Regions from separate parts of the Homo sapiens genome. Here all the other regions are linked to region 1. Evidence: promoter capture Hi-C in 16 types of primary human blood cells and fetal thymus (Javierre and others, 2016). All regions are on one chromosome and are shown on one strand. The core of a region is centred on a gene start or on the middle of the fragment in contact, and the rest is flanking DNA. Distances in the headings are between cores, read along the strand shown.

Region 1 (4,186 bases), core at 1,075-3,574:
GACTGTGCGTCTCAGCTCGATGATCTCCGCCTGGTAGGACTGCAGCTGCTCTGAGCTGGATACCACCTGCTTGTTCAGCTCCTCGGTCTGAAACACCCAAGGGGAGAAAGGATCAGACCCTGCCTCCGGGGCCCTGGGGGGCCTTGGGTCCTGAGGGGCCACGTGCTTAGATGCCCACCTGCGTGGTGAACCATTGCTCCACTTCCCTGCGGTTGGTTTCCACCAGGGCCTCATACTGACTCCTGGTCTCGTTCAGCACCCGATTCAGGTCCACAGTGGGAGCAGCATCCACCTCCACATTGAGGCGGTCTCCAAGCTGGCAGCGCAGGGTATTGACCTCCTATGGATGCAGAAAATACAAGAGTTACTATGCTCAGCAAAGAATGAACTCTAAGGAATGGCATTGCTTGTTGAAACCCTGTTAGTCTATTTTCTCGGAAAAGAAACTTTGAGTGGAGCAGTTTGTGACAGCTCAAGGCACTCCATGTGGCATAGCCCCCTCCCCACCATCTGCTGTGCCATGGCACTTGGCTTCAGAAAAAAATCCCAAAAGTTTGCTTGGATGCCACTGAAGGATGAACTAATTGATATTCAACTTTCCCAGTTTACAATTGGCTGTGAGGACCTCAGAATGCCAAAAAAAATAGGCTGTGCAATTTCAGACCATATATCAAAAAACTCTTGCTGTCAAGTAAGAGGTAAGAGCATGTCATGGCCCCTCCCAAGAGAGAGGAAGAATCTCACAAACACTCTTCACCAATACTTTGAAAGAGTAGAGACTCACATTTATAAGGTTTGATATTTTTTTTCTTGGCCTTTGCCAAAAAAAAAAAAAAAAGACTTTACAAAGCAATAACACTGCAATGCTAGGACTCATTCTACAACTATTGATCAACTGCAAGCACATGGAGCTGCTCCGGGCAACTCAAATAATGTGCTAGTTTAAAGTGAAAGATGTTTCCTGTCTGGGAACATGAACAGGTCTTATCTCTCTCCAATTTTTCTCTTACCGTGATGTTTTCAAAGGAAACCCTCAGTCTTGTACTCATACTCTGCATTCTGCTGCCCCAAATCACTAAAGCAACCCTGAGCCAGAGGCTGAGACAGGTTTGTGCATTTCTCATTTCTAGTCTCACCTGCTCATGGTTGCTCTTGAGGCAGAGCAGCTCCTCCTTCAGGGACTCCACCTGGGCCTCCAGGTCGGACTTGCACAGGGTCAGCTCATCCAGGATCCTGCGCAGACCGTTGATGTCCGACTCCACCAGCTGCCGCAGGGACAGCTCGGTCTGGTACCTGCGCAAGGACAGGGTCAGAGTACTACCTGGTAGATCTTCAAGACTCACAGGAATGATTTTTGATAACCTCATGTGCCTTATCTTTCCACTTTCTGTAATGAATAGGCCCAGGAGACAGAGGTTTCTGGAGGCTCCATCAATACCCAATATTCATCCCAAAACAAACAGATTGATGTGAGTCCTCATCCATTTTTGCATTTCTTTGCTTGGTTCTCCCCAGTCCTCTGCAGAATCCTTCACAACAAGTGGGTAGATCTGTTTTCAGATGGAAATCCCTTTTCTTTAAAGATTAAACAGAAGCAATTGACACTAGTGCAAATTCCGAACAACTCACTTGGTTCTGAAATCATCCGCAGCCAGCTTGGCGTTGTCGATCTGCACCACAAGCCTGGCATTCTCAGACTTGGTACACAGGATCTGGGGAGTGAGAGGTGGCTTAGTGAGGACTGAAAATAAATATGAAATCATCAACTTTTTAAAAATGACTTAAGCCATTTTGAAATAAAAGAGGAAGCAAGAATTATGACAGCACAGAAGCAAGAAACACACTTCTCTATCACAGACAGAATCACAGCAAACTCTCTTGCTTGGAGATGACAGCAATGCCGCTCACCTTCTGCTGGAGCTCCTCAATGGTCTTAAAATAGGACTGGTAACTGGGGCACAGCAAGGGCTCCTGCTGCTGAGACCGCTCCCGGATGAGGTTCTCCAGCTCCGCGTTGTCCCGCTCCAGCTGACGCACTTTCTCCAGGTAGCTGGCCAGGCGGTCGTTCAGGAACTGCATAGTCTCCTTCTCGCTACCATTGAAGGAGCCCTCGCAGAACCAGTTGCAGTTGCTCACATTGGCGGGGATGTTGCAGGCCCCGGGCAGGGTGCAGCTGTGGCAGCTGGGGGGCACGCAGGGCCGGGAGGAGCAGCTGGTGCGGCAGCTCAGGCTGGGCAGGCAGAAGTTGTAGGGCATAGTGCTGGGAGGGAGGGAGGGAGTGCCTGGCTGAAGACAGAGTCTAAATTCTCCAAGCCACAGAGCTGTGGGTCTCCTTCCTCTAGGGAGCATTTATATCCCACTGCAGAGGGTGTGGACACAGTATGTAATGTCTTTTTTCTTTTTATTTCTTCACTTCTTTTCAAACGCCCTTTCCTTCAGTCTGTTATTTGCCTTCCTCTGAAGAGTCCCTTCTCCCATAAAATTCTTTACTTGGGCTTCTTGCTAAGTCAGGACTCCTCCGCAGACAGTCCACCCATGAAATCAGAGTTCTGTGGTAGGCCTTCAAAGAGGCTACACAGTCCAGCCCAAGTATCTGCCCTCATTAATTGAGGTGTTGATCCATCCGATGACATTCTTTTGTGTCACATAATTCTGCAGGCCCATAAACATACTCATGTCCTGGTCCACCTGCCGTTTCTAGGGAGAAACACGGATTGATTTGAGGAAGAAGTTGCATTAAGAGGCCACAGTGGACTGTCTTTCCCTCTGCATTTAGAGAAGAATCTTCAAATGATGGAGCATTCTGTGCCTTGGAAGCCTTAAGGTGGATGATTAGAATCAATGGAGGACACGACTGAAAAGATTAGACAGCGATTTGTGTTTTACGGGTCCGTGTAATACTTCCCCCCCACCACCACATATTACTTAAGAAAATTGTAGAGGAGAGAATTTTAAAGGTAGAGGCTTTGATAACTAGTTGGAGAACAAGAAGTTTCTGGGGTAAGAGATCGTTTTGAAAGAGGCTGAAAAGTGCAAACCGAGAGAGCCATAAAAAACACATTTAAGGCTGGGCACAATGGCTCACGCCTGTAATCTCAATACTTTGGGAGGCCGAGGCCGGCGGATCACGAGGTCTAGAGATAGAGACCATCCTGGCCAACATAGTGAAACCCATCTCTACTAAAAATACAAAAAAATTAGCTGGGCATGGTGGCACCCACCTGTAGTCCCAGCTACTCGGGAAGCTGAGGCAGGAGAATCACTTGAACCTGGGAGGTGAAGGTTGCAGTAAGCCGAGATGGTGCCACTGCACTCCAGCCTGGTGACAGAGCAAGACTCCATCTCAAAATACAAAACAAAACAAAAAAAATGCATTTAAATAATCTAGGAAAGATATTCAGGGGCAGAGAGAAAGGAATAAGGAGGTCTTTGTCAAACATTTCCTAAGGTTATCCATAGTATCCGAACAGAGTAGATGGATATGTTAGGAAAGTCAGGAGATAGCCCAAAGGGGCCTCCACGGCCTGAAATCACTTGTAGTTGATCTTTAAACTTCATATGAATTGACCCTATATTCCATAATATATCCATGTTGGCTTTAATCTTTATATATATATATATATATATATTTTTTTTTTTTTTTCAGATGGAGTCTTGCTCTGTCACCCAGGCTGGAGTGCAGTGGAGCGATCTCGGCTCACTGCAAGCTCCGCCTCCCAGATTCATGCCATTCTCCTGCCTCAGCCTCCTGAGTAGCTAGGACTACAGGTGCCCACCACCACGCCCGGCTAATTTTTTGTATTTTTAGTAGAGATGGAGTTTCACCGTGTTAGCAAGGATGGTCTCAATCTCCTGACCTCGTGATCCACCCGCCTCAGCCTCCCAAAGTGCTGGGATTACAGGCGTGAGCCACCGCGCCCAGCCAGCTTTAATGTTTTTAAAAAGCCCCTTTTAAATTTCCAGTTAAACTTTCAAATACTTTGCTTAATTCTCTAAGAGAAATGGATACATCAGGAAGATGTACCATATTCTGTCCTGGGCTTCCCATCTCCAGCCCGAGTGGAGATGCCACCTGCTTTAAGAACCAAAGGTCTAAAGGTACCAAAGGAGGTCTCTGTGGTTGTGTAATTAAATCCAAGGACCTGGGCACCAGGAAAGAAAATGCTGAGCACGGCATGAGCAAGGG
Region 2 (3,675 bases), core at 419-2,918, 470 kb before region 1:
GCATGCTCCTCTCGTGCCAGCCTTTGCCTTACCCTTCACTCTCTCCCTCCAGGAGCCGTCGGTACGTGGTGATTTCCTTCTCCAGGTGGGTTTTGATGCCCAGCAGCACTTGGTATTCATTGTTCTGCCGCTCCAGTTCATGGCGTAGCTGCGTCAGTTCCTCCTCATAGTGGGAGATGATCTCTTGCATGTCCTGGAGCTTGCAGGAGTACCGAGACTGGGTCTCGGATAACATGTTTTCCAAAGCAGATTTCTGAAAGAGGAAATGATCTTCTGTTAATTAACTGATGGCTTGATTGAGTCAATAACAGGTGATTGTTGAGTACTTAGCAGATGTCGACCAGTTGGCTAGGTGTCTTGGTAGCTGCTGAGGACACCAAGATGAGAAGTAGGCTGACTTACAGGTTTGGGACTTGGGCAGTCAGGAGTTGAGCAGTGTTAGGACTTTTGAAGTCCATTGCCTTGCTCTGAACTGTTGTTTAACTCCTTTCATTTTATCTTTGACCTGATTGAAAACTCCCAAAGAGCGACAGCAACTGGGACTGCTATCTCTTTGTATCTTCGGAGAAGGGTCTCAATTAGGGATGCCAGATAAAATAGAGAACATCTAGTTAAATTTGAATTTCAGATGAGTAATGAGTAATTTTTTAGTGTAACTATGTCCAAAATATTGCTCCAGTATTGCATGGGACATGCAAAAAAAATTGCTTTTTATTTGAAATTCCAACTAAACTGAGTATTCTATATTTTAATTTGGTAAATCTGGCAACCCTAGTCTCAAGCAATGCTTTTTGATTATGACGATGGTAAAAAAAAAAAATGTCATTTTTTGAGGAAATTCTAACAGCTGCCAAATGAAGTTTCTGGGCTAGAATATGGAGGATTGAGTTCAAGTCCCAGTTCTGTTTGCATGTAACACCTGCTTTTCTGAAGCGCATAATTTTAACCTTAAAGAGAATCTCCTAACTGTGCTGGATACTCTCCCTTTATCGTGGCTGCTAATTTTCAGGGGGCCGTTCATGCTGCCTGGCGGTTAAAGCACATTTCCCTGGTCAGCCAGTCTCCTACTCTCCCAGGAGGTTATTTTGTTCCCTCTCCTCTGTCCTTGCCATCCTTCCTCGGAGTCCATGGCCTCGCTTCCTAATTTTGTTGATGAAATGAAAGCAATCGGGAGAGACCGCCCACTGCTCCCTACATTGCTCCCAGGCACATACTTGAATCTGCATCTGGGTGCTGGCTTCCCTCTGTTCTTTTGTGTGAGCTGTCTGTGCTCCAGTCATCTCGGCAGTTGCCCGCCTTCTTGCGTTATCAATATTCTCTCTGGATTATTCCCACCAGCTTTCAAATAGAATAATTTTTCCTACCTTAAAATATATCTTTCTTAAACCCATATCTACCTTCAGCTATCATCCAATTTCTCTGCTCTCCTTCAGCTACAGCAAAGCTCCTCAAAGAGTTGTCTATGCCTGCTGTTCCTCTTGAGACCCCTCCAAGGTAGCCTACAAAGCCCTACACTGTCTGGTTCTGTTGGGACTCCGCGGCCTCACCCTGTCTTCCTCCCTCTTCCCCTCCCTTCCCCTCCTCTTCTCTCCTTTCTTCTTCCCTTCATTCACTCACTGTAGCCACATGGACTTCCCTGCTGCTCCTCCAACTCATCAGACACACTTGTGCCTTGTCGCTTTTGCACTTGCTGTTCCCTCCTCTTGGAACACATCCCATCACCACATCAAGCACCTCCTTACCTCTTTGCTCACTGCCACTCTAACAGGAAAACCTTTCCTGACCACCTTGTTTAAGATAGCAGCTCTTCACCCTGGTGCATCTGCCCTCCTCCTCTGCTTCATCTCTGTAGCAATTTTCTCCATCTAACATATATTTTGATGATTTGCACATTTATTATCTGTCACTCCTACTAGAATATAAACTCCTTCATTAAAAAATCCTCAGTGCTAAGGATTGGTGTCAGATAGTAGAATGCATGAAAATGGGTATACATGCCTCGCCTGTTTCACAGGGCCATTGTGAAATACTGTATGTTAAAACGTTTTGAAAGTTGCACTATAATTATTTTTGTACTCATGATCTCTACGTGCACATTTGCAGTGTCTGTTCACCATCACGGATGCATAAAACACAGCAGTCATTTACCCAAGTGCACCTGCAACATAAATGAACAAATCATTGCCTCTCAAGACTGAGGGTAGAATCGCACTTGGCAATTATATGGATGAATGATTAGAAGACTCAATAGGGTATACTGGGAATCAAATGATAGACCTTCATAAATTTTGAATGCTTATGACCATGCTAAGCATTTTTCTAAACTGTGAAGATGATAGAAATGACTTGGACACAAGAACTTAGAGTTTTCTGGGTGATAAGACATATACATAAATGAATAGGGCAGTGCTTTGGAGTTAGCCAGGCCTGGATCTGCCACCTACCATGTTGGCACTGGAATTTCTCTACATTGGGGTTTGAGGGGGGTAGCCTGGTTGTAAGTGGAGAGGGCACTGATAGAAATTATGGGGGTCTAGAATCCCCCTTCCTCCAAATAAATCATATGGTTTCATCACCAGTTACTTACTAGCTGTGTGACCTTGGCCAATTTATTTTACTGTTGGAGTTTTGGTTTCCTCATCTCTAAAATGGGGACACTAAGACCTATCTGGGAAGGTTACTGTAAGGATTAATGACATTTAATATCATGAACTACTTAGCACAATGCCTGGCACCATCGGGACACTCAATACATGGTAGCCCTTTATTATGGTTCTCATCATAAACAATTTGGATGGAAAGTGGAAAGTGAGAGTTGTCCCAAGGGAGTTGAGGGTCAGGGCCTGGGAGAGAGGTCTCAGAAGGCTTCGTGAAGGAGGTGGTGTGGGATTCACGGTTTTCCTAGCCTTGACTCACCGTGCTGTACTGTGTCTGCAGGTCAATCTCCAGGGCCTGGAATGTGCGCTTCAGTTCGTGGATGTCACCTTGTCTGCTCTGCACAGTGGCTGGACTGGCTGCCTCCTGGGACATGGCTGCAGACTGTGGGACCAAGCAAGGCAAAGGCGTCAGCATTGGGACCTCATGGAAATGCAACCTTTGGGAAGTTTGTGCATCTTTCTTTTACCTGTTCTTTATACCAAGTGTCCAAGTCTCGATGCTTCTTCTTTATTATAAGCTCATATTCTTGTCTCATATCCTCCAGGACCTTAATCAGATCTTCCCTGGGACCTGTATCCACCTTCACATTGACATTGAAGTCACTTGGCACATGATGCTTCTCCATTTCCTATTTAATAACAGAGAAAGGAAATGAACCGGCTTTGACAATCAGAAGGCTGGATTGCCATGTTGATTGGCAGTGGTAAATAGATCTTTTAAACATTCCGATTATGTGGTTGCTCCCACTGTCACTGGTTTGGTTTCTCAAATATTACTTACTTGTTGGTGATAAAACATTGTATACTTTTTTCTCTAATAATTTTATAAAATAAAGAATATCTTTGAGACCAACCTGACCAGCATGGAGAAACCCTGTCTCTACTAAAAATACAAAAAATTAACTGGGTGTGGTTGTACACACCTTTAATCCCAGCTACTTGGGAGGCTGAGGCAGGAGAATCGCTTGAACCTGCGAGGTGGAGGCTGCAGTGAGCCGAGATTGCGCCACTGCACTCC
Region 3 (4,135 bases), core at 113-2,612, 320 kb before region 1:
ATTAAATTAAGAACAAATTAGCAAGCTATTGGGCTCTGGGAATTGCATAAAATGAATGAGACCCACTTCTTTTCCCTTAGGTAACTCACAACATAATCATGGATTTTTTTTTTTTTTTTTTTTTGAGATGGGGTTTCGCTCTTGTTTCCCAGGCTGGAGTGCAGTGGCATGATCTCAGCTCATGGCAACCTCTGCCTCTCGGGTTCAAGTGATTCTCTTGCCTCAGCCTCCCAAGTAGCTGGGATTACAGGCATGAACCACCATGCCCGGCTAATTTTGTATTTTTAGTAGAGACGGGGTTTCTTCATGTTCATCAGGCTGGTCTTGAACTCCTGAACTGAGGTGATCCACCTGCCTCGGCCTCCTAAAGTGCTGGTATTACAGGCGTGAGCCACCACACGTGGTCTGAAAGTTATTTTTCTTTCCTTTCCCTCTCCACTCAATTAATTCAATTAATCATGAATTTAATTTAAATGCATATGTCAGGGAGAGTATGTTGGTAATATTAGTGAGAAAAAGGACTCTATTCTATTGGAGAAAAGTAATACATACGTAAGGATTGATTCATAGAAATAAAATGTGTCAATTCTGAAAATTCAGGTTAACATGCACAGGTCTCAAACACGTAAGATTATGTGAAGGAGAATCAGATCACAGCCGAATATTTATATCTTTATGAAGGGTAGTCTTATTAAAAAGACATTTAAAAAATTATAGTCCTTTTAAGGAGGAGGGATATGTCAAGATTAATTCATGGTGAGTTCTATGGAAAAATAAGAGGCATAATTTTAGGCTGAAGCCATAGAGTCAGTGGGAAAATCAGCGAGCATGAGTGATGAAACACGTCATTATGGGAAAGAAAGTGATGGAAACCAAATTGGAATTGCAGTTGAGTTCTATTTTTGAGATGCTTCACTGACCCATTAATGATATTCATCCACTCATGCTCCATTAAAGCTCCAATTGCAGAGTTTGCATGCAGGTCTACCTATGAGACATGCAAAGGTTAGGGCTCACTCCACATGACCTGGATCAAGTCACCCAGCTACCTGTGTTTCCTTTATAACTTTGAGATTCCCTTTTGCATTGGGAGTTCAGTTCATATTGTATTTCCTGTGTCTTTTCAAGCCATTTCCTTCCATTTCAAAATGATATCAATCAAAATGATATCAGTAGGCTCAAGAGCTCTAGGCAAAACTTTTAGCTGAAGAGGAAAATAAAAAAGTAAAGTAAGCACAAAACTCAAAACAACATATTCAGAAATTGATATGGTAATGCGACGTGAGAATCGTATCTTTGGGCTCAGGCATCCCTCTTCAATTTATTCCAGGACCATAAATGGTCTATACAAGCTGTTTCTCGTTTCAGTATTGCTTAAGTACCTAGGCCTGAGAAATCTATCAGAGCCTCAAACTAGTAATGATGCCTATTCTGTCATATCTGCATATTGCAAAACTGTATTTGTTTTATTCATTTCTATGATCTCTTCTATGGCACATAAACATTTATAAATATGTTATCTTCATTTTTGAATTTTTTCCTTTTTTTAAAAGACAGGATCTGGCTCTGTCACCTAAGTTGGTGTGCAGTGGCACCATGTCAGCTCACTGCAAAATTCAACTCCACGGCTCAAGCCAACCTCCCCTAGCTACTTCAGCCTCCCAAGTAGCTAGGACCGCAGGCATGCACCACCATGTCTAGCTAATTTTTGTATTTTTTGTGGAGACAGGGTCTCACTATGTTGCCCAGGTTGGTCTTGAACTCCTGAGCTCAAGCAATCCACCCACCTCGGTCTCCCAAAGTGCTGGGATTACAGGTGCAAGCCACCACACCCACTTTATTACCAGAAAATATAGGTATTGTTACCCCATTTTTTAATTTGCCTACCACTTGTGTATTCTTTGCTATTTTTATCCCCTACCACTTTTAGAATATATTTGAATCTTTTTAAATTTTATCAGCTTCATCTCTCAGAACCATTATTTTATGCATGACATCTATACTGTAATGGAATTCTTTATTTTGACTTGTATTTCAGTCAATGGGAATATTTCTTAAAGGAATTTTAAAGGGAAGTTATATATCCCGAGTCCTTGAATCTATGAGGAAATCTTTCCATTGCCTTCACACATGACCAATAGCTTGTGTGGATCAAAATAACAGGGTCTGATTCTGTCACCTAAGCTGGAGTGTGGTGGCACCATTTCAGCTCACTGCAAGCTCCAACTCCTGGACTCAAGCCATCCTGCCACCTCAGCCTCCCAAGTAGCTGGGACCACAGGCATGCCACAATTTTTTTTGCCCTTCAATGCAGTTTAGGCGTGAATAAAATATTGGAAAATAAAATTAACCTTCAGGATTATTTAACATGCTTTGGAAACACAGAGAAAGAATCTCACCAACATCTGGAGCATGGGCACTAGTTTACTTCAGGAACACTTAAGGGGGAGTGTATATATGAGATACTAAGTCTAATTTTAACAGTTTAGTAATAGCAGGTCCTTAAAATGTCAGAAAATTAACTTTTATGTCCTCTTATCCTCTTTGAATCCATTATGATACACCAACTTTTAAAAGGTGTTAAAAAACAGAAACCCTCATCTTACTTTCTCAGGACAGGAGACAATAGCAGATAAGAAAGTGTAGCAAATTTGGGGCAAGAGCAATGGTGGTCAACTAAAGATAACAAAAGGAGCTACAATGTGAATGCATACAGAGAGAGTACCACAGAGTGTAAAGTTGGTTTTCCTTGAATCCTCAGAAAGGCTCAGAACCCGGAGTCACCAGGTAATACCCCTGAAGGCAGGGTAGGCAGCAGGATGCTTCGACCCCTGGATCCCTACCCCACCCTACAAAGTTGGTCATTAGGCCTCCCCCACTTCCAACCAGGAGAAACAAGGGTTATCTTCCAGAAAATTTAGTGACAGAGACTCCAGATTTGGGAATACTAAAGTGAACAAAAGTCAAGAATAGAACAGAAAACAGACTCATGCAGTGAAAATCTGAGTACTGTGCTCAGCATCCAGGACTGATGGCCATAAGCTTTCCAAGCAGGATATTGGAAGATTCTCCTCTAAAGAAACTAAACATATAAATCTTGACTTCTTTTTTGTGGATGAAGGGGAGGAGAGGTGAAGAGATCAATTAACAAGCCCTGCTGTCCACACAGAACTTTCAATTGGCTTTTTAGTGCCATGTTAACCAATATGCTTCAGACACTTGGGAAATGTCTCCAGCCTGACAATTCACACTAATTTAAAAAGAAAAAAAGAAAAAGGGGGAAAAACAAATTTGACAGGAATAGAAACTACAGGGAGCAGAATAGAACTAAAAAATTGTAAAACAAGAACTATTGTAAATAAAATACTCAAGAGAGCTAAGAGAAGAAATTCTGTTTGAAATAAAAACAAGATTCTAAGAAACAGGAGCAGTCAGAGAAGTTGAGTGAAAGCTTGAGAATTAAAATGTGATAGAAAAAATTAGAAAAACGTTCAGTAAAATGTTTGGAAGGTAAAGTAGAACAAGGAGTCAAATAATTTGTTCTCCTGTCTTGAAGATATGTAAAAAAATTTATAAAAAGAAGTGAAAGAAATGGACATTAAAGAAACTATAATAACACAGAGGATCAATTCAGGAGATCTACCACTCAATGAAGAAAAATTTTAGAAAGACAAATGAGAAAACATAAGGAGTCAGGTGTAATGGTTGCCTGTGCCTATAGTCCCAGTTACTTGGGAGGCTGAGGTGAGAGGGTCCCTTGGGCCCAGGGATTTGAAGCCAGCCTGGGCAACATAAAGAAGTCTTGTCTCAAAAGGAAAAAAGAAGACAGGAAGGGAAGGGAGAAAGAAAGAAAGAGAGAGAGAAAGAGAGAGAGAGAAAGAGAAAGAAAAGAAAGAAAGAAAGAAAAAGAAAGAAAGAAAGAAAGAAAGGAAGAAAGGAAGAAGGGAAGGAAGGAAGAAGGGAAGGAAGGAAGAGAAGGAAGGAAGAAGGGAAGGAAGGAAGAAGGGAAGGAAGGAAGAAGGGAAGGAAGGAGGGAGGAAGGAAGGAAAGAAGAGAGGGAGGAAGGAAAGGAGAGAAAGAAAGAGAAAGAGGAAGGAAGGAAAAGAAAGAAAGACAAGGAAGAAAAAGAAAGGAA
Region 4 (4,024 bases), core at 1,452-3,951, 340 kb before region 1:
CAGAGGTAATTGGCCAGAGGTTGCCTAAGGCTTCTTCCACCTCTAACACCCTGGGCGTTCTATGATGTTCCAACAGGTGTCGGATCAGTAAACACACCATTAGGCTGGGAATGTAAGTTTCAACCCAGGTGCGGCCTCCTAGCGTGTTTCTTGTTGCAGAACATTTCTCAGGTGTTCAATGCATGCCTGGAATTTTGGGCACAAGTGACTCTGTACACATGATAAAGTCATAGTTGTATCCATCTTCCTGACTCAGCTGTGCTCCATAAATGCCATTTACAATGATTATAAGAAAACTACTCAGACTTAAGTTATGAGAACTGTATAAGAGGATTATTCTGCATCTTGCTTTGAGTATCTCTAGAAAAAAAGAGACAATCTCCCAGAAGAAAATATCACAAAGACCATGATTTCTATGGTAGGAGTATTGAGTTTATTAGAAAGCAGACAACATGATATAGGAGTTAGACTGGAGTCCTAGGAAAAGTATTTCTCATCTGTGGTTGGTCTGAAAAGGTGTCTTCAATGCATAGTGTGAGCTAGTATGAAGAGATGAGAAATGGGCTTCTCAAGGAAACGTGTATTGCTCTGCGGTGAAGCCCTGAGGGGCAGCGGGATGGACCTGGCCATCTTCTGAGGGGCCCTTCGTGATAACGGGCTGCTCAGCAGGAGGAGGTCCTGCAGGTGGTGCTGCAAGGGGTCGGCTGGCCGCAGGGGGACTGCACAGACACAGGCTGGCAGCAGGTGGTGGCTCAGCAGGAGGAGGTCCTGCAGGTGGTGCTGCAAGGGGTCGGCTGGCCGCAGGGGGACTGCACAGACACAGGCTGGCAGCAGGTGGTGGCCCAGCAGCAGGGCCTGCACACCACAGCCGTGCACGACGAGGGGCAGCAGGTGATGGGGCGGCAGCAGCCTTCCTGCAGGGAGCAGGGGTCGCAGCACACCGGGCGGCGGCAGGGCTCGCAGATGGGGCGCGTGCAGCGGGGCACGCAGGTCACGGGGCGGCACACGGTGGTCTGGCAGGTCACGGGGCGGCAGCAGCAGGGGTCGCGGCAGCAGCAGGGCTGGCAGCAGCCTCCCCCGTAGCTCAGGGAGGAGAAGGTGGAGCCGCAGCAGGAGCCGGTCATGGTGGTGTCTGAGGCTGGTGTGGGTTGGGCTGTGGAGAGGAGCTGGATGTTCTCAGGTGTGAATGTCCTCCTCCCCCTCTGGGCCCTTTATATACGCTGGCTGGGAGCTGATGACCCCCAGGACACAAGGTCATTTCCTTGTTTTCACTTATTCTTCCTGAAATAACACCAGCAGATTAGTAAGTTTTGTAGACATTGTTTAGATGCTCAGGTACACATAAAAGTCTATTTTCCTTATTTAGTGTAGACCCATTATATTTTGCTATTTATGGTTCAAATATGAATTTAATGACCCTAACTTCAAAGTCTCCAATTATCGTTATAATTCAATGACGCTTTTGCTAGTTGCTGTTTTGATAGCTCAAAGCAGCTGTTGTGCTCTGCATGCTCTGAGGGTTATTACTTGCTAGCAGTTGAAGTAAAGCGAGCATCTCAAGTTGTTAGTATTCTTTGCCACTGCTAAGCTTCCTGGGCAAAACAAGTTGAGGATAATACTACAGGGATAGTTTAAAAGTCAGGATTTCTCAGTAAAAGAAGAATTTTCCTGTCCCCTTTTTGGAGGTACAAGAATGCATTTTAGTAGGTTTCCATCATCCAGTGGTTTTTGTCTTAGAGATATGTTCATTGATTTCTATGGTTGTATCTTTCCAGACCAAGGTAAATTTCACTGTAATCTTCATGATAGCCAGTATCATTAAGTTGTAACTATGTTCCAAGCATCATATTAAAAAATACATGCATTAATCTAATCTTCATAACATTCTTAGGATGTGGATATTGTTTATTTCTCATTTCACACATAAGGAACCAGATAAGTGACTTACCCAAGGTCATGTACCTAGTAAGTGTTGGAGCCAATACTCATTCCAGAAATATCTGTGGGAACATTATTTATCAGCCCAAAAAGCTGAAGAACTCACTGTAGCTAAAGAATGGATTGTAGGTACCACATTCCCAGGTATTAAGGAATGTCTATTTTATTTAGGAGCTTTTACAGTGTATTTACTTTGAAAACAGTTGTTATTTATGATATGTCTAATTTTTAGAGTCGGTTGAAAGGACTCTATGTCTTACCAACAGCCTCAGGAGTGGGAAGAATTACCTTCTATTCAGCCTTCTGAAAATGTCGAAACATACCCTAAGGAGATAGTGTCATAGTTGGGCATAACTGAATGATTATGGGGTATTGTGAACAAAGCCACCAATATGGTGAGGAAGTCAAACAAGTCTATGTAGAGGAAGGTTGCAGTCTTGCGGTATAACAAAACCCTTCAGTAGTGATCCCACTTGAACGTGTTCTCGGGCCTCATCTGGCCCATACCTCAGTGTCTTCAACATCTCCCTGTGTGCTATGCTGGGGCTCATTTCTGCTTATGGAACCAATTGTCATTTTTAATTGTTTCAAACTGTCATGACTTGTAGGCAAATTATGTCACTCAATCACTTTTGAGTCTTTGCCTCTTAATTTACTTGGTTCTGACCTTTTCCTTTACAACTAAGACTGTTCTATTAGGTTGGTGCAAAAAGTAATTGTGGTTTTTGGCACTTTCAATGGCAGAAGCTACAATTATTTTTGCACCAGCCTAATAGATCTGAAGTTGAAGGTTCAAGTGTAAGCATTCTTATTGATCACACCACTTGCATGGTTTCTTATAGGCTTACCCAGATCTGCACCAGCCACTTCAGCCAACCAGAGAATGGGGTGACTGTGGGAATAAATGAGATCCAATAATAATGATAGGTTTGAGGGGAAACAAGGCATTGTCCATTTGAGAAAACACTTTTAAATAAGGAGGTCTCTAGAAGGCTAACAAGAAAAACTCTGAGAGGAGAAAAACAGATGTACTTAACGAATTTTGAAAACAGTGATCAAGAATATATAGAAAGAAATTAGACTTGTGAGCCTATCCATTGGTTAATTACCAAACCGTTAAAAAAGATAAAACTCCATTGTGCACGTACTGCAAATGTAAAGTTTTTGAATATAACAGTCTTCTTGTTGAGAAACTTTTACCATATTTCCAGAAAAAAGATCTTTCTTCATGATTGGTTTATTGTTTTATTTTAAGAATATGCATATCCAGCATGAGTTGAGAGTTGGGATGGAATGATAATGTCTTTCTCTGTTTTAACCAATCCCCTTAGAACTTACTCATTTATCATTCAACACATCATTTCTGATTATACTCAATGTGCCAAATATCGTGCAGATCAGTGGGAATCTAGTAGTGAACAAAGTTAGTCGAGATCCTGGCCCTCAATGTAAATTAGCTCAGCCATTGTGGAAAGCAGTTTGGCAATTTCTGAAAGTATTTAAAACAGAATTACCATTCAACCCAGCAATCCCATTAGTGGGTATGGACCCAGAGGGATTGAAATCATTCTACCATAAAGACATATACATGCATATGTTTATTGCAGCACTGTTCAAAGTAGCAAAGATATGGAATCAACCTAAATACCCATCAAGGGTGGACTGGATAAAGAAAATGTGGTACACATACACCATGGAATACTATACAGCCATAAAAAAGGAAATTATGTCCTTTGTAGCAATGTGGATGAAGCTGGAGGCCATTATCCTAAGCAAACTAACACAGATACAGAAAACCAAATACGGCATGTTCTCACTTATAAGTGGTAGCTAAACATTGAGTACATATGGACACAAATAAGGGAACAACAGATACTGAAGCTTACTTGAGGGCAGATGGTGGGAAGAGGGTGAGGATAAAAAAACCATCTATCTGTTACTATGCTTTTGTTTAATTAAATTAATTAATTAATTAAGTTTTGAGACAGAGTCTCACTCTGTCACCCAGGCAGGAGTGCAGTGGCGCAACCTTGTCTCACCAAAGCCTCTGCCTCCCAGGTTCAAGCGATTCTCCTGATTCAGCCTC
Region 5 (2,700 bases), core at 1-2,500, 410 kb before region 1:
AACTTCAGTTGCCTTGACTCCAAAACTCTCCTCTCCTGAGAGTTTTATAACCCCCCAAAATGGGTGTTTACAGACTGCACCGGATGTTTTCTTTATCACTGATGGTGCCAGTTTTCGTACAAACATCTCATTAGAGTTGTTTATTTACTGAGGAAGAGTTTTATGCCTCATAAAATAGGGATAACTTTAGGTTACCAAAGCAGGACCCACACCATTTCCATGTGCAAGACAAAACACTTATTTCAGAAAATCGTCATAGGAAGCATTGTGCTTTTGACAGAATAATAAAAGAAAGAGAAAATTTGGCCAATGAATAATTATAGATACAACTCATTACAAATCAGGAAAATAATATGTCCACAGATTTTGATTCTGTGGATTGATTGCTTGTGTCCCCTTTTAAAATTAGTATTACAGCTCACAAAATGACAATTATTTGTTTGTGCCACCACCATAAAAATGGTCAGTGTGATTAGTAATCTTTCAATGCTTTTTGTGATCTCAGAGCATGTGCTGATAAAGACTGGAGGAGTGAGCTATATATTGGGTTTAAAGTGTGTGTGTGTGTGCAAACCATGTCTACCTGCGTACAAATGGAAAAGTCACTTTACATAACTGATAGGAATAACTTGTTTTTCTGCAGGCTAAAATATAAATTGGTTAGAGCTGGAATTATGATCTTTGATTTCCTGAAACTTGCCTTCTCCACATTTCTCATTGCTTATTGTTAGATAAGTTATACTATTTTACCTGTATTCCTAATAAGAGTGAAATATAAATTCTAAGTTATAACCTTTTAGTCCCTTGGGAATTCCTTAATGATTATACTTCAGAGTAGGGGCAAGGAACCCACAGGAATCTTTTCTTCTGAGATGTAGAGCCTGTTTTCTCCTATTTATTTATTTATGAAGGCCTGAATTTCATGAAAATTGAAAATACTGGAACTTGGAAAATAAAATTCTATTTAGGTTCCAAATCAGTAATTCCACTGGATGAAATCTCTGGTGCCAAATCTGACAGACAGGAACTTGAGATACGTAATTTTTTTGAATTATCTCTTGGATTTCACCTCCATTGTGAAGGATAATCTATTTCACTTTGCTTGGTTTTAGTCGTTACATTTATTTCATTTTCAAAGGTGCATAGAGAAAATTGTCTCTAGAATTTTTAAGAACATTATAGGAAAAAAACAGATTAATCTGAAAAAGTTAAAAAATTTTTGATCCAGAATAAACTTATTTTTTCTCCTAATCTTGAGTGCTACTTCCTAGGTACCTGATAGTAGAAACCAAACCAAACCAAACCAGAAGAACATATGTAAGTGAGTTAAAATAGTCTCTTAGGATTTATTACTCCCTGGGCAGAGCTGGGTTTGAATTTAGTGATTCTCTTTACACATCAACACTTATGCAAAAAGTTCTTAGAGTGTCTCATGGTATATTGACGCTGCTCTGCAACAAATATGAGTTCAAGGATTCAAAAACACTTCTGAAAAATTACAAATCTCTGAAAGAAAATTATCTTTTCACAGTAACCTAATGAGTCAAAAGAAAAATATCTGTGAAGAAAACCCATGTTTTGGTTGTCCATCACAGGCTCCAGTTAGCTAAAATGCAGTCATGTAAGTGCAGGTAAAATAAGAAATATTTCCTTCTGTCTGGAACTAATTTCTAATTGTAAATTATTTGTTACTGGTTATTGTCCTGCAGGTAGGACTATTTATTTTGGTCTTGATTAATTAGGTAGTGTTGTATAATGATCTATAGCTATAGTCTCCATCGTAGAATATAGAAATCACCCAGAATTCATTTCTGTGGAGTCCTCCTTAGGGAAAAGAAGTCAGGCTGGCAGGACCAGAGGAAAGCAAGTTAGTGGGTGCAGCGCACCAGTATGGCACATGTATACATATATAACTAACCTGCACAATGTGATAAATAAATAAAAAAAACCAAAAAACAAAAAACAAAGAAAGAAAGCAGGTAATGTATAAGACTCACCTTCTTCATGGTCCAGGACACATAGCCCTCCTGCACAATATTCCTGCACCCAGCTATCACCAGACCTTCAGCTGATAGAAAAATGTAACTTAGCTCACTGCAACCTTAGTGTTATCAGTACCACACAAACCCTCTTCAGCACACAGTACAAGCACCATCCTGTAAAATCTCCAGCACGCCTTTGTCTCCTTGCAGACAGCCCCTTCTCTGCTGTGCTGCCCATTGCTTCCTTGCAACGTATTTTCATACGTTCTCTAATATATCTGCCTTTCTTTACCTACAACTATCTTGATAAATTCTTCTTACCCCCATGCCACCAGCCCCAGATAGTTGCTAATCACCCGTGACAATTTCTATAGCATATCATCACCAGAAGAAAGGAACATTGGGAATAGAGAAAAAGAAATAGACATCATGAAAGGCCATGATAAAAAAAAAAACCGACAACAACACGGTAGTTTATTTTGCATAATACTATGCTCTTACCTTACAACATCCACCTAGGCTGCCAGAATCATTTTCCTAAAATACAAACCTGCTTTTTGTCGCCTTCCACTTATGGAATGCAAACTTTCTACCTTGGCAAATATGACCTTCCCTAACCTGGTGCCAATTTACCTTTCTGGGCTCACTTCCTGATGTTCTGTCTCACAAACCCTAAGCTCCAGCCATCCTTCAAGCTTCGTAGGTACTATTTTCTTGG
Region 6 (4,097 bases), core at 223-2,722, 450 kb before region 1:
TTCCCAAAGTGTTGAGATTACAGGCGCGAGCCACTGCATGCGGCCAATGTTGCTTCTTATTCAGAAACAAACCTTAATACATTGTTCACACAAAAAACCCATTGTTTGCCTTTTCATTCATTGAACAAGTATTTACTGAATGCCTACCCTGTGTGGAGCAGAGAAGGTGAGGAGGAGGGCAGGGTGAGAGGACGCTGGTGGCGCACAGGACACAGGGTCGTTCTGGGCTTTCTCAGCTCTGCTGAGTATTTTGATCTTCAACACAAGAGATGTGGAAAATGAAGATTTTAAGCAGGGGAGTACTGCACTGTGATCTTCAAAAAGATCACCCTAGCTGTCTCATGGAGAATGAATGAGGGTGAGAGTGAAGTGGTGGGGATGGCCAGGAAGGGACTGCCCCTGTCCAGAGGAGAGACAATGGAAGTTTGCTTGTTAATTTTGATTGACTTAGTAAGATATTCAGGGATATTAGAGTAAGAGCACAGCATTAACTACTTTTCTGCCGTGAGAAAGAAGACATAATAATAGTCAATAATAAATTGACTATTATTATGTCAATAAATTGACCCTGTGGTGTGTATATGCTGCATTTGTTATTCGAGAGGATTGCATAATAGACACGGTGTCTATTATGGTACCTTAAACTGTATATGTTTGATATGTGTCCTATTCAGTAGGCTTTTAGACAGGGAGTAATCATATGTTTTGCCAAAATATTTTTTTGTTCAAGGCTCTCAACTTGCTTTATGGACAAGTAACTACCACGATGGACTTTTTCTTATGGATGTAAGAACTAAGGCAGTGAAAGGAGGAAGACTTGCCTAAGGTTGTGCAGTGAGTTAATGGCAAAGGGGCCCTAGAGCCCACTCCCTACATGGCTGCTGGTTCGTATTTCACCCATGTGCTTACAGAGACTTTACCCATGTGTACAGTGTCTTCTCACATTTACTTCTAGGTTTCTCCCTTCTATATGCGTGAATGCTGTTCTCATTACCTATTTTACTGCTCGTAGATTACTAATCACGACTCGATTTTTAGTTTGCGATACAGGTTTTTCTTTTCCCTTCCCTCCTTTCTTTTGGTTTGGAATATTTGCTTTTCAAAGCTCTGTTATTCTAACTAAAACTTTTTTTTTTTTAATTTTTGAAGATCTTCTTGATGGTGACATTTTCTGCATCTTTGTTGCAGTTTGGACTAGTGGGAAGGATTTTGGGCTAGGGGTTTAAAGTCCACGCTCTACCGTTAACCCACCCACCTAGCAACATTAACCTCTCTGGTCTCAAAGTTCTTACCATGAAAATGAGACTGCCAATAATTTTCCTTGTAGTTTAGAGGGTTGTTGTGGGGAGCAAGTGAGTTAATGTACATACATAAGCTTTGTGATCTACATGTAATATATATACATTAGCTATGTAATAGGTGTGTACTTTACATACATGAGCCACATAATTGGTATGTAACAAACATACTTGAACTATGTAATTTTCAAGCAATGTACACACATGATACATGTAATCTGTATGTAATATACATACAGAAGCTATGTAATAGGTCTGTAGGGTACACATACAAGCTTTGTAATCTGTAGACTGCTGTGCAGAGATGAGGGCAGAGGAGGAGAATGATTAAAAAACACCCGTATTCCACCCTGAAGTCAGGATCCCACAAGTCTGGACAGAGGGGAGACCGATGAAGTTGTCAGGAAGTCACAAGGGCTAGATGAAAAAGTCTAGCCTAAAAGCTATAATTCTGTCCCCAGGTGAACTTAAGGAGAAACAGGAACTTCAGGAGTTTACATTTTATAAACTTAGTCCATGTAAAGCTCAGTCTAGATTTATGCTGATGAATACCCTGGTTACCAGCTGTCAGTTCACATCCCAATTCTGCCATTGCTACCCAGTTCTTCAGTCTTTAATTTCCACAGCTGTGAACTGAGATTAATACTCAGCCCTGATTGATGGGGTTGTTGTGGAAACGAAAGGAGATAATCTATGCATTATACATTAAAAAGTACTCAGTGATACTATTATGAAAATGTGTCTGTGTGTGTTTGTGTGTGTATGTGTGAGTGTGTTAGAATACTCTATTTTAGCTAGGTGAAATAAGCCTATATCTATGTTCTGGTTTTGGATACTTTTGCTGAGAAGTCATATATATTTTTATAGAGTGTTCTAAACTTACAGAATTTATTTTAATATGCTTTGTGGCTTTTAAAATCTCACTTTTCTATATAAATTATATCCTAAACATAATCCCCAATTTTTTGTTTTGCTATATTTTATTCTTACTATTATCATGTTATCTGTTTAAAGTTATTTTAGGGCAGGCACTCTTTCCACCCTAGCAGTGAACTCATAGTTCTTCCCTAGGAAGGCTTGAGTTTCCAAATACAGGTAAAAGCCATTTCCAAATGCCTTTGGTTAGGTCCCACTCTGGTCTTTTCCTTCTAGCTCTGTCAATTAGGGAATAAATTATTGCAAAGTGTATATTGGTTAAAAAAAAAAAGGAGGAAGAGGCAGTTTTTCATGACGGTTAAAAGTGCAGGATTTGGAGTCCCATGGTCCTGGGTGTGAATCCTGGCTGTGGCACTAACTATCTGTGTGACTGGCTGTGAACCTCTCGTGCCTCACTTTCTTCATCTGCAAAATGGGTAGTTGTATAGCAAATGCACATAGAGAACACTTAACACTTTGGCACATTGGAAGCACTCAGTAAATGTTAATTGTTATTATTGTTGCTCTAAAGAGATGACCCCACAAGGTTATGGAGTATGTTTACATCTTCAAACTATTAGTTAAGATATAGCCTTAAACATATGCTCTCCTTATGTCAGAATGTTCCCTGAGGGTTGAAGTACAACCGGGAAGCTTGATTGGTTCGTGAATTTAAACACTCGTGACTTTATTGCTTACTCCAGTTTTGGTTTTGGGGTTTTAGAGAGATAATACATGGGCTGTCTCTTTTCCCCTCCCTCTCTCTGTTTCCTTTGGTGTGGGAGGAAGAATAATGGTCCCCGAAGGATGCCCAGGTCCTAATACCCAGAGCCTGTGAATAGCTGATGTTACTTGGCAAAAAGGTAATTAAAGTCACAAGTAGAATTAAGGTTGCTAATCAGCTGGCCTTAAAATAGGGAGAGTATCCTGAATTATTCAGGTGGGCCCAAGATAATCATAATGTCTTTAAAAGTGGAAGAGGGGCTGGGCACGGTGGCTCACGCTTGTAATCTCAGCACTTTAGGAGGCCGAGGTGGGTGGATCACGAGGTCAAGGGTTCGAGACCAGCCTGACCAACATGGTGAAACCCTGTCTCTACTAAACGAACGAACAAACAAACAAACAAAAAACCCCACAAAAATTAGCTGGGCATGGTGGCACATGCCTGCATGCCTGCATGCCTGCACACCTGTAATCCCAGCTACTCCGGAGGCTGAGGCAGGAGAATGGCTTGAACCTGGGAGGTGGAGGTTGCAGTGAGCCAAGATCGCGTCACTGCACTCCAGCCTGGGTGACAGAGCAAGACTCCGTCTCAAAAAAAAAAAAAAAAAGGTGGAAGAGGGAAGTAGAAGATTCAGTCAGTGTTGGCGAAGGAGATGTGATGAAGGCAGAGTTAAGGGTGACGAGATGGCTGATGGTGAAGATGGAAATGGTGGACAAGCCCAGGAATGTGAGCAGCCTCTGAAAGCTGGAAAAGTTTGGCAATAAAACAAATCCCCCCCAGGACCTCCAACACTTTGATTTTAGTACACTGAGTCCCAAGTCAGATTTCTGAAATAGAGAACAGTAAGATAGTACATTCGTGTTTTGTGTTATTTTGAGCCATGAAATGCATGTCACTTTGTTACAGTGGCAGTAGAACATCGTAGTGTCTGTGTGTTTGTGGGGGAAACATCCAGTAGGAACTCTGGTGATGGATTTTTGCTGAAGATTTGCCAGGTCTGTCCTGCAGACCCTGGCCGAGCGTCGGATGAAGGGAGTACTGACAACACAGGCGTGCAGTGTAAGAGCAGCTAGGGGTCTGCCGGCACTTAGGGCCAAAGAAGAGAGCAGCTGCGAACAGCTGAAGCTGCTTGCTTTTATTCAGTACAGACATAATGCCGA
Region 7 (4,047 bases), core at 26-2,525, 490 kb before region 1:
TTGAAAAAATAAAGAGTATGACATGATCTGGCAATTATTAACCTGGGGAAGTGAAGAGTGAAAGAAGAAGCAATCGAGCCACATGTTATCTCTGTAAATGGTGAAGTGACTCACCCTAGGGCTCACCAGGAACAGGAAGATGTCGTTTCTTTCTTGCCTCCAAGTGGCAAGCAGGGACTGTGTGTCCTTCATTCATAGCTGCTTGAGAATCAATTACAATAGGTGGGATGCTGTGATAGCCAATAGGGTTCAGAAATCAAGACACAGTCCATGATTCCGAGGAGGCGGCAGCCTAGCCGGAGACGGTGACTAATCGGGAATTATATATAATGTTCACGAAAAGATTTGTGGATATAGAGGAAGGATCCCCAAGTAAAGCTGGGTGGGAGGGAGTCATTGAAGTTTTCCTGAAAGTGCAGAGTTTGAGGGAGAGTCCAAGCTGGAAAAGCACAGGGACATGGAGGTGGCCCACGCATCCCTAAAGTGCAGCGATGAGTAACTGGTGGATAAGTCACAGCCCATAAATCTCAGAATTCATCCATTCACTCCACAAATATTTACTCAGTACCTGCTGAGGGCCTGGCACTGTTCTAGGCCATGAGGATACTTCCGTGAGCAAGACAAACACAAATTCCTGCTGACAAGGCTTCATTCTAGCAAAGGGATATAAACCCCATACAGATAATATATATGTAAATTATAAGACAATGTGATGTAATCACACTGGAAAGGTAGAGAAATGGCAACCGGAGGTGTGAGATGGTGTAAGAATCCTGTGATGCCATCTTCTACAATGGGGATTTAGGTCTTTAATGTCTTCTTTTTTTTTTTTTTTTTTTTTTTGAGACGGAGTCTCGCTCTGTCGCCCAGGCTGGAGTGCGGTGGCGTGATCTCGGCTCACTGCAAGCTCCACCTCCTGGGTTCACGCCATTCTCCTGCCTCAGCCTCCCGAGTAGCTGGGACTACAGGTGCCCATCACCTCGCCCGGCTAATTTTTTTTTGTATATTTAGTAGAGACGGGGCTTCACCGTGTTAGCCAGGATGGTCTCCAACTCCTGACCTCGTGATCCGCCCACCTCGGCCTCCCAAAGTGCTGGGATTACAGGCGTGAGCCACCGTGCCCGGTCTTTAACGTCTTAAGTTGATAAAACAAGAAATAGCAGTGTAAGCATATTCCTTAGAGATATGCAGGTTAATACCAGAAACAATAGCTAAAAGATTTCAGAGAGAAACATTCAGGAGTGGGGACACCAGGGGCTGCTATTTTTTACTATGAACCTTGTATAGTATATGATGTATTCATTCATTCACTCACGCATTCATTCATGAATTCACAAGTCTGTGTGAATATCAGTGTGTGCAAGGTTTTGTTGCAGATGCTGGGGATACAGTAGTTAAAAAAACACAAACGTTTCTGCCCTGGCGGAACTTAGATTCAGGGGTGGGAGCTAGAGGTGAAGGGAGTAGGTCAGAGGAGAAAAAGGAAGGGTGGGGAGGGCTGGGAAAGTTGCCCTTGTGTGTAGAGAGATGAGAATGGGCCTCCCTGTGAGAGTGGTATTTGAATGACAGCAGGAAGAAAAGAGCCATATGGCAGCTCAGGTGCAAAGGTCTATAGCAGTTTAGGTGTGAGTGTGGGTGGAGCAGTGGGGATGTGGGGGTGCTCAGGGATGGAAGGGAGGGTGGTGGAAAGGACCTCAGCAATTCGGAGGTGAATGGTGAGGGATGTGGATGCCATCATCCAGCAAGGAACCTGCCTTTTACTCTGTGATATGAGAAGCCACCGAACTTTGGCGATGGAGTAATTCCTTATATCTTTAAAAAGAGGCACAAAGACCACACCTCATAAATACTGACATCATATTAACAGAATAGATAATACACCACTTTTTCAAATGTATCTTTTTTTCTTTTAATCGCTGAGAGGGAAAAGTAGTATCAGTGGCAGCACACACACACACACACACACACACACACGGAAGAAATGGAAATAAAAGCTAAAGAACAAACTAGTAATGATTCGGAGTGAGACCCCTAACACCTCCCGAATGGGGGCAAGAAGCTCAGGACTCTGGTAGCCCAGGCAGAGTCTGAGTAACTGGCGTTGCCTCTCTTCATGCATCTACCTGATCCACCTGTCCTTCTACCCACCCCTCTGATCCCTAGGAATTCTGAGAGCCTGGTATCACCCAGGTACAAGATGAAGAAGTCTATTGTCCCCTAGAGGGTAAATGGCAAGAGGTGCAGTTTAGGAGGATTCTCAGTCTGGGAGGAGAAGCTAGCTGAGAGCTTGCCACAGATGTAAGCAGGAACGCCCGGCTGAAGTGGGAACGAGGCAGAGGCTGGAAGACACAGCAGAGTGCTGTGCAACAGATGCCGCCTGGCAGACATGGTGCTCTCATCACAAGAGACTGTTATTTGGTACTGAAGTAGCCTTCACATTCCATAGAAAAATGTCTTTCTATTTTTTATATTATACTTTAAGTTCTGGGGTACAGGTGCAGAACATCCAGGTTTGTTACATAGGTATTGATGCGCCATGGTGGTTTGCTGCACGCATCAGCCTGTCATCTACATTAGATATTTGTCCTAATGCTCTCCTCCCACAGCCCTCCACGCCCCGACAGTCCCCAGTATGTGATGCGCCTCCCACCCCCCGTGTCCATGTGTTCTCACTGTTCAACCCCAACTTATGAGAGAGAACACACGGTGTCTGGTTTTCTGTCCTTGTGTTAGTTTGCTGAGAATGATGCTTTCCAGCATCATCTATGTCCCTGCAAAGGACATGAACTCATCCTTTTTTATGACGGCATAGTATTCCATTGTGTATCTGTGCCACATTTTCTTTATCTGGTCTATCATTGATGGGCAATTGGGTTGGTTCCAAGTCTTTGTTATTGTGAACAGTGCTGCAATAAACATATGTCTGCATATGTCTTTATAGCAGAATGATTTATAATCCTTTGAGTATATACCTAGTAATGGGATTGCTGAGTCAAATGGTATTTCTGGTTGTAGATCTTTGAGGAATCGCCACACTGTCTTCCACAATGGTTGAACTAATTTACACTCCCACCAACAGTATAAAAGCGTTCCTAAGAAAAATGCCTTTCAATCCTTTACCTTATTCCATGATCACCAATTTTCTGATACCTAATTCAGTGTGCAGGCACATTGATTCCAAGACAGGTTCATGGTATAATGGCAAAACAACAGCAAGACAACTTCCATTGTAAATGAACGGGGGCTTCTTGTTCCTTGGGTTTAGCTGGCTCCATTCCCTTAGCTCCTGACCAACCTTGGTAAAATAAAATTTCTAAACCTTGAAGCTTGAGGACTGGACCTTTACCAACAAATGTGTGTTGAAGAGTGAGCATGGGAGGTGCAGTGAGTGTAGGGGCTCACCTGGAAATACTCCGCTCCTCCTAAGCATTGCTCCAGCGTGGCACCCACAGCCACAGAAGGAAGCACAGCACAGGAGATCCATCAGGGTGTCCCATGAAATGCTGCATCCGAAGCATGGGCCAAAATATCTAGACCTCAATGAAGAGCTATAAAGGGGTGTTAGGGGATACAGCATCTAACATAGAAAGCACGCTGTCCATGGTTATTAAGTGAATGCATGGATGAACAGGAGGAGTCCAAATTATCTGTTTTAAAGAGGAAGACATTTCTTTGTGTTTTTAATCCTTCTTGTTTTTATGGTGTCTACTACCAATTAAAATGTATTGTGCCATGTTTCTTAATTAAAATAAGAAATTTGATTGCATGTTTCTGTTGGTAAATGATCATACAAGAATCATTCATGTCAGCTTTGTTCTGGGAATGAACACAGGATATGGGGTCAAGATACGTGGGGTAACTCTGTTACCAAGACCTTTAAGGAAATAGTATTATTGAATAGAAAATGGAACATTTGGGCTCTGAAGTCTTATTTCATGACATTTAAAGTGTTTATTTAGCTCTGGCTTCCTCTGCTGGAAGATTGACTTTCTTATTTGCTCCTGTAACGGATGGATATGCTGTGTGGCTGTAGAGCTCCTTCCCTCC

Evidence for each region. The method cuts DNA at HindIII sites, captures the fragments that hold promoters and counts their contacts. A CHiCAGO score of 5 or more calls a contact.
Region 2: a contact is called between a fragment that was not itself captured here and the fragment with the promoter of KRT31 in region 1, in 10 of 17 cell types (total B cells, endothelial precursors, naive CD8 T cells and 7 more). The highest score is 8.9, in total B cells.
Region 3: a contact is called between a fragment that was not itself captured here and the fragment with the promoter of KRT31 in region 1, in 3 of 17 cell types (activated CD4 T cells, total CD8 T cells and total CD4 T cells). The highest score is 5.6, in activated CD4 T cells.
Region 4: a contact is called between a fragment that was not itself captured here and the fragment with the promoter of KRT31 in region 1, in 3 of 17 cell types (total CD8 T cells, total CD4 T cells and total B cells). The highest score is 5.3, in total CD8 T cells.
Region 5: a fragment that was not itself captured here is called in contact with the fragment with the promoter of KRT31 in region 1 in 1 of 17 cell types (naive B cells); the score reaches 5.3 in naive B cells.
Region 6: a contact is called between a fragment that was not itself captured here and the fragment with the promoter of KRT31 in region 1, in 13 of 17 cell types (naive B cells, total B cells, naive CD4 T cells and 10 more). The highest score is 10.8, in naive B cells.
Region 7: a fragment that was not itself captured here is called in contact with the fragment with the promoter of KRT31 in region 1 in 7 of 17 cell types (M0 macrophages, total CD8 T cells, endothelial precursors and 4 more); the score reaches 7.3 in M0 macrophages.

The regions. Positions count from the first base shown.
Region 1 is chr17:41,395,284-41,399,469 of GRCh38, forward strand. KRT31 (keratin 31) reads right to left here and starts at 2,325. Exons shown (of 7, transcript NM_002277.3): 1 at 1,909-2,325; 2 at 1,630-1,712; 3 at 1,137-1,293; 4 at 179-340; 5 at 1-87. The coding sequence starts at 2,256. The HindIII fragment of the contact is 10,261 bases long and covers 1-4,186 here.
Region 2 is chr17:40,925,322-40,928,996 of GRCh38, forward strand. KRT23 (keratin 23) reads right to left here. Exons shown (of 9, transcript NM_015515.5): 5 at 3,125-3,286; 6 at 2,917-3,039; 7 at 33-253. LOC107985072 (a long non-coding RNA gene) reads left to right here and starts at 3,282. Exons shown (of 4, transcript XR_001752886.2): 1 at 3,282-3,361. The HindIII fragment of the contact is 4,468 bases long and covers 1-3,675 here.
Region 3 is chr17:41,072,917-41,077,051 of GRCh38, forward strand. No RefSeq gene overlaps it. Among named protein-coding and RNA genes, the nearest start is that of KRTAP2-4, 9.1 kb to the left of the region's middle. The HindIII fragment of the contact is 3,355 bases long and covers 1-3,040 here.
Region 4 is chr17:41,054,088-41,058,111 of GRCh38, forward strand. KRTAP2-2 (keratin associated protein 2-2) reads right to left here and starts at 1,143. Exons shown (of 1, transcript NM_033032.3): 1 at 411-1,143. The coding sequence starts at 1,124. The coding sequence ends at 753. The HindIII fragment of the contact is 2,231 bases long and covers 1,587-3,817 here.
Region 5 is chr17:40,984,307-40,987,006 of GRCh38, forward strand. KRT40 (keratin 40) reads right to left here and starts at 20. Exons shown (of 7, transcript NM_001389244.1): 1 at 1-20. The HindIII fragment of the contact is 2,850 bases long and covers 1-2,675 here.
Region 6 is chr17:40,945,504-40,949,600 of GRCh38, forward strand. All of the region lies in intron 1 of LOC107985072 (a long non-coding RNA gene), which reads left to right. Among named protein-coding and RNA genes, the nearest start is that of KRT23, 9.9 kb to the left of the region's middle. The HindIII fragment of the contact is 198 bases long and covers 1,374-1,571 here.
Region 7 is chr17:40,903,227-40,907,273 of GRCh38, forward strand. The region is part of intron 1 of LOC105371777 (a long non-coding RNA gene); the gene reads left to right. Among named protein-coding and RNA genes, the nearest start is that of KRT20, 20 kb to the left of the region's middle. The HindIII fragment of the contact is 4,098 bases long and covers 1-3,324 here.